3 separate regions of the Homo sapiens genome follow, and all the other regions are linked to region 1. The links are contacts of gene promoters, found by promoter capture Hi-C in blood cells and fetal thymus (Javierre and others, 2016). All regions are on one chromosome and are shown on one strand. Each heading gives the region's core, a stretch centred on a gene start or on the middle of the fragment in contact. The rest is flanking DNA. Distances are from core to core; before and after follow the strand shown.

Evidence for each region. Contacts are between HindIII fragments. The CHiCAGO score rates a contact against its expected background, and 5 or more counts as called.
Region 2: a contact is called between a fragment that was not itself captured here and the fragment with the promoter of CENPK in region 1, in 9 of 17 cell types (total CD4 T cells, naive CD8 T cells, non-activated CD4 T cells and 6 more). The highest score is 13.2, in total CD4 T cells.
Region 3: a contact is called between the fragment with the promoter of KIF2A here and the fragment with the promoter of CENPK in region 1, in 3 of 17 cell types (naive CD8 T cells, total CD4 T cells and total B cells). The highest score is 10.4, in naive CD8 T cells.

What each region holds. Positions count from the first base shown.
Region 1 is chr5:65,561,679-65,565,531 of GRCh38, reverse strand. It overlaps CENPK (centromere protein K), which reads left to right and starts at 2,364. Exons shown (of 11, transcript NM_022145.5): 1 at 2,364-2,434. It overlaps PPWD1 (peptidylprolyl isomerase domain and WD repeat containing 1), which reads right to left and starts at 2,236. Exons shown (of 11, transcript NM_015342.4): 1 at 2,026-2,236. The coding sequence starts at 2,221. RefSeq lists enhancers at 1,787-2,447, 2,588-2,727, 2,448-3,109. The HindIII fragment of the contact is 1,930 bases long and covers 1,519-3,448 here.
Region 2 is chr5:62,408,192-62,411,858 of GRCh38, reverse strand. No RefSeq gene overlaps it. Among named protein-coding and RNA genes, the nearest start is that of IPO11, 2.7 kb to the left of the region's middle. The HindIII fragment of the contact is 4,608 bases long and covers 1-3,667 here.
Region 3 is chr5:62,304,240-62,307,891 of GRCh38, reverse strand. It overlaps KIF2A (kinesin family member 2A), which reads right to left and starts at 1,686. Exons shown (of 21, transcript NM_001098511.3): 1 at 1,356-1,686. The coding sequence starts at 1,419. RefSeq lists a silencer at 953-1,982. The HindIII fragment of the contact is 9,341 bases long and covers 1-3,652 here.

The sequences.
Region 1 (3,853 bases), core at 1,115-3,614:
ACACCCGGCCAACTATTGGCTGTCTTAAAACAATAAATAACTGATTAAGAGGAAAGATTTTCACACCTACTAATTTATATCTGTCTCCGTTATATTAAGTTTATAAGACACTTGTCCGGTAACACTAATATCAGCATTTCGATATTTCTGGATTTTTACATTTCTCCTTACTCGTTTAATTAAAAAAGAACTTGCAAAAATATTCATATGCAACAAAATAGCTAAAGACCAGCATAAAAGCTTTAATATGCAGTCATTAAATACTTAGGCAAAGCACTGTACACCAAGCAATGAAACAAAAAAGGCGTGATTCTGGTTCTTACTTGTTTACAGTCTTAGCAGTGGAGAGAAACATTCATCAATCACATGAATAAATATATAATTAGAAACTGCGGCAAGTGCCATAAATAAAATGGTTACTATGGAAACATTTAATAAGAGGACCAGGAAGTAAAAATGATAATGCACTGTAAGGGTGTCAATATACAACGTTCAAAAAAACAGCTTCTTCAAAATTTGGATACATAAAATTTGAAGGCTACCTGTAAATTCAGTATTGATATATAACTACCTCAGAGTTATGATCAAAGTGCTTCAGAAATCCAGTCCAGACTGGAGAAGTCACAGGCTTCCCAGAGAAGATGATAGCTAAGTGCTAAAGGTTGACCAAAAGTCAGTTCAGTGGAAGAGTTGAGGGAAATTATTCCCGGTAGAAACACCATATCTGGGTAGGAATCCAGAGGAAAAAAAAGTACAAGACCGATTCTCGAGTGATTTTAGAATGGGTGGAGTACAAAGTAAGGGGTTGGGAGAGGAAGGTAATGGAAGATGCACTAAGAAGGTAAGGAGAGATCACATCATAAAGGGCTTTATATGCCATGTGAGGGAGTTTGGGCTTTAATGAAAATAATGAGCTGGGCGCCGTGGCTCATGCCTGTAATCCCAGCACTTTTGAGAGGCCGAGGCAGGCAGATTACGAGGTCAAGAAATCAAGACCATCCTGGCCAACATGGTGAAACCCCGTCCCTACTAAAAATACAAAAATTAGCTGGGCGTGCGCCTGTAGCCCCAGCTACTCGGGAGGCTGAGGCAGGAGAATCGCTTGAACCCCGGAGACGGAGGTTGCGGTGAGCCGAGATAGCGCCACTGCATGCGCTCCAGCCTGGGCGACAGAGCGAGACTCCGTCTCAAAAAAAAAAAAAAAAAAAAAAAAGAGAGAGAAAATAATGACAAATCATTGAAGTTTTTTAAGGGAAGGTGCTAAAGTACGATTTGAGCTTAGACCACATTTAAAATGTCTTAAATACTTAAGGAAAACATTTCACAGAAAAACAAGATAACAAAACAACAAAGACAAGAAAACTTAATCTACCCCTTTTCCCACCCCTTTTATTTGATAATAATTTGTGATTATTCCTCGTTAGTGACAAAAAGACTCAGCCCATCGTATCAAGAGCGTGATTTCAAAACCACAGACTTCGGGTTTTGGATGAAAACAAATCTGTGATCTAGGAAGCTTACGTCATTTTCCCTAGATGCGAAAATTTATTAGTGGAAGTGTCAGAGTTGAAATTATCTTTACCTACCATGATTCGAAATAAGCACCGCCTTCCTCTCGCGCCCCAACACATTAATACATTAACACCACTCCTGAACTAAAGCCTTAAAGAGAACTGGTACCCTTTTGCATACCTAAATAAGAGTTCGAAATTCCAACTTCATGTGGCTGCTGTGGGGAGTAAATGAGAGGAGCCAAACACATAAGAATAGGAAAATGTTAGTTTTAGCATCTGTCATAACAAATCAATGATCAAAAGTGTTAGATATTATCAAAAAGACGTTGTACTACGCTTAAATCACTATTTCGTTAAGACATGCAAGTATGGAGTAGCCAGAAGTGAGAGGACGGCCCTCTGTTCTGAGGGCACAAAACTCCACACATCATCCCTCTTCGGATCTGGCTTGAACCCTCCTACTCAGCGGACGCAGCACTCCAATTCGTCCCGGTACTATGTCTGCAGCTACCTTTCCTCTTCTTGGCCAGTGTTGCCTCCACAGGTAAAGGTCCAACCCAGCGCTCTTCGTTCTCCTCATCGTTCTCCTGGGACACCGCCACTGCTACTGCCAGCTCTCTTTCGCTGAGTTCTGTTTTTTCCGGTTCCTCCGGGTCCCGGCGCCTTCTACGTCTCTGCTGAAAATCGCTACCACTTTCCGCCGCCATGTTGTTCGCATCGTCAGAAAAGGCGCGACACAAAACTCAGCTACCAATCCCAAAGCAGCGGCGCAGTCTTCTGTCAGCGTCCGAGCGAGTTTCGGGATTGGCTGGGGTGGGAATGAGCACATCCAATGGGCATGCAGCGCGCGCAGAAGTCCGGGGCTGGCAAGCGCTTCCTGCGCAGCGCCTAGGCGACCTGGAGTTTGTGACGCTGTGATGGTAAGACCTGGGCCGGGGAGGTTGATATAACGGTTGAATCTTGTGGAGCTCCAGTCCTGAAGGTGAAACCCTTATCGCCGGCCAACTAGATACCTGACTTCCCAGCCGGGCTTTGAGTCCCGTTCTTCTCGGCTTCCCGCGCGCCAACGCAAGCTCCATAACCTCACCAATATTTAGAGAAAGATGGAAGGGTGGGGACAGAAGGAAGTGGTTAACTCGCGGGTTTCCTTTCAGATGCACTAAACATGTTTTCTCTCCTGACCTTTATTCTCTCACACACTCTCTGAAGAAGGTGGTGAGTGCTTGTTACTGTTTCTGGGGGTGGGGTGGAGAAGCAGCTACTTCAAATAACCAAAAGACCTAGGGCAGAACGGGTCACTCTTCTTTCTTCTCTCTGGTATAGGATTTCATCTCCTAGCAGTCATCTGAACTCTTTCTCCTCCTCCTCATCTGTCTTCTTCATTTTTAAAAAATTAGGTAAAAAGCACATAACATAAAATGTATTATCTTAATCTCTTTTTTAAAAAATCAAATACAGCTTGTCAAAATGACCTCCGTAAAACACTTCTTTTTTCTCTGCAATTACTTTTGCACCAACCTAATAAAATCCTCGTCGTAAATCTCTTCTCTACTTTTGCCTTGAGATAGGCACCACGTACAGGGAAGGAACTGCCCCCCCATAGTAGGCACTTTATTTTATTTCAAAGGTTCCCATTATTTGACCATTCTACCTAGCAAGTCTCATTTCTTCTCTGCCCTCTGCTCTCATCAGACTACTTTCTTTTGTGTCTCACAAATTTCCCTTGTTCGTTCTTGCCTCCTACTCTTATGTTTTTATGCTTGAAAGCATCTCCACAGCGATTTAGCCTTCATGTTTACAGCTTCTCATCTTTCAGAGACCAATGCAATAATGAGGATGAAGATGATAATGATAATGATAATAATAATGTAGCTAGTTAACATTTATTAAGCATTATTATGGACTAATTCCTTCCGGGTTGGTTTTTCTAAGCTTCCCTATCCTGAATTCCGATAGTACTTGCAGGCAGTGTTGTATACTTTACCATTTCATAGCACTTCTGACTACCTGAAATCATATCATGTATTTAGTTATCCATTCATTTATATTGTCTGCATGAGAATGGAAGCTCTACAAGTACAAAGACTTTTTCATCTACACAGCTAAAGCCAGTGTCTGACCAATGGCACACATTAACATATTTGTTGAATAAATGAATGTATTTTAGAATTATGTGGGTATTTTTTGCTTATTTCATGTATATTAATCTTTTCCCAATTAATAGTACGAGTTTCTTTAAGTATAGTATTATCCCTAAATAAAGAGATACTGTTTTTCTTCAATAAATGATTAAGTATTGTAGTCCTAACTGGGGACCTCAAAAAGTTGACTTGTTCCCT
Region 2 (3,667 bases), core at 425-2,924, 3.2 Mb after region 1:
TGGAGGCAGAGGTTGCAGTGAGCCAAGATTGCTCCACTGCACTCCAGCCTGGGCAACAGAGCGAGACTCCGTCTCAAAATAAATAAACAAATAAATAAATAAATAAATAAATAGACTCCGTCTCAAAATAAATAAATTAATTAAAAATACACACCAACTATATATTTCTTAAAAATAATAATAGTAAGGCCAGGCACAGTGGCTCACGCCTGTAATCCCAGCACTTTGGGAGGCCGAGGCGGGCAGATCACCTTAGGTCAGGAGTTCGAGACCAGCTTGACCAACAAGGAGAAACCCCATCTCTACTAAAAATATAAAAAATTAGCTGGGCATGATGGTGCACCCCTGTAATCCCAGCTACTCGGGAGGCTGAGGTAGGAGAATCGCTTGAACCCTGGGGGCAAAGGTTGCAGTGAGGCGAGATCGCGCCATTGCACTCCAGCCTGGGCAATAAGAGCAAAACTCCGTCTCAAAATAATAATAATAATAGTAAAAGAAGTTGTAAGGAAATAGAGTGTTCAAAAATATTAATAATAGAAAACCTTTATTGCTAATTTAGAATATTCCAGGTACAGTTTTAAGATCTTTATGGGAATTATCTATTTTAATCCTCAGAACAACCCTTATGAGGTAGGTATTTTCTTTATGTCCACTTCACAGATGAAGAAACTGAAGCACAGAGAAGTCAAGTAGCCCACCTAACGTCAAACAGCTAGTAAAAGGCCATGTTAGGATTTGAACCAAGCTCTGCATTCCAAGAATGTCGATCACACAAGGGCTGTTTTTTAAAGTAAAAAGATAAAATTACCTAAACAACCACCAATGACACAAATGATTAAATCACAATACATCCATACATAATAAAATACAAATTGACCATTTAAAATTATGTTGAGGTCGGGCACAGTGGCTCACACCTGTAATCACAGCACTTTGGGAGACCAAGACGGACAGGTCACCTGAGGTCAGGAGTTCAAGACCAGCTTGGCCAACATGGTGAAACCCTGTCTCTACTGAAACTACAAAAATTAGCCTGGCGTGGTGGCATGCGCTTGTAATCCCAGCTACTCAGGAGACTGAGACAGAAGAATCGCTTGAGGCCGGGAGGCGGAGGTTGCAGTGAGCCGAGTTCGCACCACTGCACTCCAGCCTAAGCGACAGAGCGAGACTCCATCTCAAGAAAAAATAAATAGGCCGGGCGCAGTGTCTCATGCCTGTAATTCCAGCACTTTGGGAGGCCGGGGCATGTGGATTGCTGGAGGTCAGGAGAGCGAGACCAGCCTGGCCAACATGGTGAAACCCTATCTCTACTAAAAATACAGAAATTTAGCTGGGCTTTGTGGCAGGCACCTGTAATCCCAGCTACTCGGGAGGCTGAGGCAGGAGAATTGCTGGAACCCAGGAGGCAGAGGTTGCAGTGAGCCGAGATCGTGCCACTGCACTCCAGCCTGGGCGGCAGAGGGAGACTCTGTCTCAAAAAAATATATATTAATTAATTAATTAAACAAAATAAAATTATCTTGAAGTGTATTTGTTGACATGTTTACACATGCACAATGCATTGTGAAAAAAGAGGGTTGCAAAACATTATGTTCAGAATGTCCCACTTTTGGAAATAAATAAATGCCAAAATGCTAGGAGGGTTTATCACTAGTTGGATGGGTATTGTGACCATGCTTTATTTTCTTTTTGCTTAACTGTATCTTCTGATTTTATTGAAAGATAGTACTTCTCAGGCTTGGAGAGGTGGCTCACACCTGTAATCCCAGCACTTTGGGAGGCTGAGGCAGGCGGATCACCTGAGGTCGGGAGTTCGAGGCCAGCCTGATCAACATGGAGAAACTCCGTCTCTACCCAAAATACAAAAATTAGCTGGGCGTGGTGGCACATGCCTGTAATCCTAGCTGCTCGGAAGGCTGAGGCAGGAGAATGGTTTGAACCCGGGAGGCAGAGGTTGCAGTGAGCCGAGACTGCACCATTGCACTCCAGCCTGGGGGCAACAGAGCAAAACTCTGTCTCAAAAAAAAATAAAAAACAAAGATAGTACTTCTCAAATTTTAAGTGTTCATAGAATCACATAGGGATCTTGTTAAAATACAGTTCATGATTCATTTAGTCTGAGGTGAGGCTCGAGGTTCTCCATTTCTAAACAAATTTAGATCTATGTTTCCTGGTAGGTAGAATAAAAGATGTCCATGTCCTAATCCCCAAAACCTGTGAATATGTTACTTTACAGAGCAAAAGGGATTTTGCCAATGTGATTAAATTATCCAGGATAATCTTACTATGGGAAGATTATGCTGGATTATCCTCTAGGTCCAATGTAATCAGAGGGGTCTTTATAAGAGGGACGCTGGAGTGTCCAAGACAAAGAAAATATGCCAGTATAATAGATGTCAGAGGGATGCCAGGGCCATGAGCCAAGGAATGCAGAAAGCCTATAGAAGCTGGAAAAGTCATGGAAACTGATTCTCTTCTACAGCCTCCAGAAGAAACTCAGACATGAAAACAATTTTAGACTTCTAACCTCCAGAACTCTAAATTAATAAATGTATCTTGTTTTAAGCCACTAATTAGGTTTGTGGTACTTTGCTGAAGCAGCAATAGAATATATGCTCAAAAGTTATAGGCTCTCTAATTTGCTACCCTTCATTTATTATTTTAACTTGCATAAAATTGAGTCTTGGATAACTCTACATTATAATACAGCTCATTAGATGCTTATAAATTAACATAATTCCTAGATTCATTTTTGTTTATAATAAACTTGAAACAAGTTTATTATTTCCATAAGGACTGATTATGTAAATCAGTCCTGGGAGGCAGAGGTTGCAGTGAGCAGAGATTGTGCCACTGCACTCCAGCCTGGGCAACAGAGCAAGACTCCGTCTCAAAAAATAAAAAAAGAAAATAATTTGTCAATTTATATTCAAAGACTAAAATGTTCACGCAGTTTGAGTAAATAATTCCATGCCTGGAAATCTATACTAGAGAACCAATTCAAAGTACTGAAAATATTTTCCAGGTATAAACTAAAATGTCTATGGCTCTATTTTTATAAGAACAATGGAATAGGCAGGATTTAGTAAACCCTTACGCATTCACAAGGTGAAAGTTTCTGTAGCAGTTTTCTTTCTTTCTTTTTTTTTTTTTTGAGACGGAGTCTCGCTCTGTCGCCCAGGCTGGAGTGCAGTGGCCCGATCTCAGCTCACTGCAAGCTCCGCCTTCCGGGTTCACGCCGTTCTGCTGATCTCGTGATCCGCCCCGCCTCGGCCTCCCAAAGTGCTGGGATTACAGGCGTGAGCCACCGCGCCCGGCCAACAGTTTTCAATATTAATTATTCAGAGTGTGTAATAACTTGGAAAAGGGCTTTTTTTTTCTTTTTTGCTTTTAGAGACAGGGTCTCTGGCTATGTTGCTCTGGCTGGTCTCAAACTCCTGGGCTCAAGTGTTCCTCCCATCTCAGTCTCCTTAATGAAGCTGGGATTAGGAGCATGCACCACTTTATAAAATAAAATATTTTTATTTATTTATACTATAAAATATTGTTTAAAATAAAAAATACATAAGTATAAATATACAATATAAAAATAGATTCTAGCCAGGTGTGGTAGCTCACACCTCTGATCTCAGCACTTCTGTAGGCTGAGGTGGGAGGATCACTTAAG
Region 3 (3,652 bases), core at 437-2,936, 3.3 Mb after region 1:
AATCCCAGCACATTGGGAGGCCGAGGCAGGTGGATCACTTGAGGTCAGGAGTTCGAGACCAGCCTTGTCAACATGGTGAAACCCCGTCTCTACTAAAAATACAAAAAATTAGCTGGGTGTGGTGACAACGCCTGTAATCCCAGCTACTCAGGAGGCTGAGGCACAAGAATAGCTTCAACACGGGAGGCGGAGGTTGCAGTGGGCCGAGATCGCACCACTGCACTCCAGCCTGGGTGAAAATCCGTCTCAAAAAAAAAAAAAAAGGAATCGGTATGAGAGATGGAGTCAGGAACACTGCTCAACTCGAGATTATCACACATCTCTCGTTCTTTCAATATTGGTACCGAAAGAAAATAATTTTACTTATCTCCCTCCGTGCATTTATTCCTTTACAATATGAATTATTTCCAGTCTGGCTGGCGTATCTCACTCCACACCCCAAGCTAGTGTCATAAACCATTTTCCCCAAGAGAAACCTAGAGAAAGATACATAAGCCTAAGGCTCTTAAAAAAAAAAATGAAGCATGTGTCTTCACCTCGCCTTACACTTTTCTCAGTTACCTCTCCCGAGGGTGTGAAAATATCAACATCCGGTCGCCCACCCCCACTCTCTCAGCAGTGCCTCGCATTGACTCTGCCCATCCCCTATCATTCCCTTTACAGTCTCATCACCTTGGAGAAGCCCATCGAATATTTCTTCCCATTGCTCCCCCACCCTTATTCATGGCTCAGCGCGATATTCTCCACATTTTTCTCCCAAGAAGTGGCAAAAAAGAAAGCAGCATGGTCGACGACGAAACCGGGGAGGCCTGACAACCAGACGGCAGTTTAAGGCGACGGAACTGGCTCTTTCCCCCCATCTCGGCCTCCGACCAGCAGTCGGTTCTCTAAATGTGAAATCGCTGGTCTTCCCGCTCCCCCACCCCCATCCCCATCCCCGTCAGAGGCCAAGCCGGTAAAATGCAAAGACCAAGGGGAAGCGCGAGGCAGGGTCATCCCTAACGAAGCCCGCTCCCTCCCGGGCTGGTGTCCCCGGGGGGGGGCTGGAGATTGCGGGAGGAGGAGCGAGCGGCCCTCGCCCAGAGACCCCCGGAGACGCGACCCTCGACACCCGGGCCCTTTCCCCACCCGGCTTCCCTCCCCCGCGGCCCGATCCGGAGAACTGCAGCAGCGCCCGGGCGGACCCCAAGCCGGCCTCACTGGCACACACGCCACACACAAAAGCGCCGCGGCCGCCGCCTTCCCACCCCCACAGCCCGGCGAAGCAATCAATGAGGCGGCCGGCGCCCGCGTCCCCTCCGTGCACACCCGAACACGGGGCCGAGCGGGCCAGCGGGGCTGGCAGCGCGGCTCACCATCGCTGCGCTTGATCTCCACGTAAATCCCGATCTGGATCTTGCCGAAGTTGGCCGTTGCCATCACCTCATCTGGAGCAGCAGCAGCGGGCCGAGGGAGGGGGACCGGAGGGCGGAAAAGGCGGGGAGGGGGCGGGGTAGGTGTGGGAGGGGGAGCGGTTGCCCGCGGCCGCGCCGGCCCGGGCGACAGCGTGAACGCAAGCGGGGCCGCAAGGAGCAGCTGTGGGGAAGCAGGCGGAGGCCCCGGGCCTGCAGGCCGGCAGGAGGACGCGCACGCCGGGTAGTCGGGGTGAAGCTAGGGCCGGGGCCGTGAGACGGCGCGGGGTAGAGTGGGAGGGCCCGCACCGCCCGCCGGGGAGCCGACGCTGGGGAGGCGGGGCGCCGCGCGCCTGCGCAGAGCGCGCCTCCGGCGTCTCTTCTTCCTTTTCGGCTGGCCTCTCCCCGCTGCCTCCAGGCGGCCCCGCCCAGCTCTGCAGCGGGGTGGGCGGCGGCCGCGGCTTACCCAGCCGCTGGAGCGTTGAGCGCTCGGCCCGGCCCACAGCTAGCCGGCGTCGCGTTTGATTTCAGCGCGCGGCCTAGAAGACGCGGGAAGCGTCGCGCCGAGCTTTCTTGCCCTCTCGCTTCCGGGAATTGGCGCTGTTGCCGGAATGGGTTAAAGGCCACGTGGTTTCAGGGGCTTTCTAGCGGGCTGAGGGATGTGAATTCAAGGGCCCTCCGTTGACAGTACGGGATCCGGGTTTTCATCGGAAGGTGGCACCCCCTATTTCCACTTACAGGTAGCTGACCCAAGCAGCCCTCCCAAGCACACTTGGTGTAGGTTTCCCATCCAGTTACGCTGGAAGGGAAGAAACACCCTTGAGGTGTCACCTACCCTAAATCGAAATGAAGATCCACCCCTTTACAGTCTTGCCTTATAGTTTATCACACTCAGAAAGAAGCTCTGTGGTGGGGCGTCCTTAACTGTTCAGGTTATGAGGCATCCGATGCTGGTGCCCTGTTTCTGCTGAGGGTTCAAGACTTACTTGCCTTGGCCTGTAAAGCCAACAACTGTGACTCAAGGGAAGAAGGCAGACACATAAGGTTGACTAGGGAATGTGTCTTTTTGCAATAATTTAATTAGTCTGACCACATCAGCAATGTGGAAAGCAAGACTCTCCATCCTGGCAGAGCAGGAAGGCCACGTGTACCGGGGCCCTGGAAACTGTATTTATAGCACCGTGTGAAAACCTCCAAACGTCTAACTCCTGCTTGTAGTACTGGCAATTGATAGGTTGGAAACAACACTTTTCATGGCCTACTTTCCCTAGTCATTGTTTTTTGTTGTTGTTGTTTTGTTTTGTTTGTTTTTGAGGGGGAGTCTTGCTCTGTCGCTCAGGCTGGAGTGCAGTGGCGCGATCTCCGCTCACTGCAATCTCTGCCTCCTGTGTTCAAGCGATTCTCACGCCTCAGCCTTCCGAGTAGGTGGGATTACAGGCCCGCGCCACCACGCCTGGCTAATTTTTGTATTTTTAGTAGAGACGGGGTTTCACCATGTTGGCCAGGCTGGTCTCAAACTCCTGACCTCAGGTAATCCACCCGCCTCCACCACCCAGAGTGCTGAGATTACAGGCATGAGCCACTGCGCCCGGCCTTCCCTAGTCATTGATAATCTCCCTGTAACAATAACTACAAATATACAATTTAAAATTTTAAAATTGGAAACTGGATATATACATCAATGCTTATGTGGATATATGTGTGCCTAGAGTTTTCTATCTAATGTAAGTAATCATGTAGGTCCTTAAAAAACTGTTAAAAGACTGGCTTCATCTGTAGCTTGAACATATTGAAGGTATACCTGTCAAAAGAACAATTCTATTGAATCCATTCTAAAGTGCATATAATTTCTATGGAAAAAAAACCACACTGGATAGACAATGTGGAAAATAACTTCTTTTACATTCCAGAAATGACACACTTGAGTACCCCGGTTTCAAGTGAAATTTGACCAAATCAGGGTTTAGTTTTTATTTTTTCTATAATTTTGGGAGTTTTATCTGAACTCTTCAAGCTCCTGTCTAGAATTCATTTTCTGATGTCTCTGCAACTGAGGTATAAAACATCTATTTATATTTTATTTATACTTTATAAAGAATGCAAAGAAATCAAGCTATACAGCTCAAAGTTAACATTGTTTCATAAAATATTATTATTATTATTATTAGAGACGAAGTCTAACTCTGTCGTGCCTAGGCTAGAGTGCAGTGGCATGATCTCAGCTCACTGCCACCTCCACCTCCCAGGTTCAAGTTATTCTC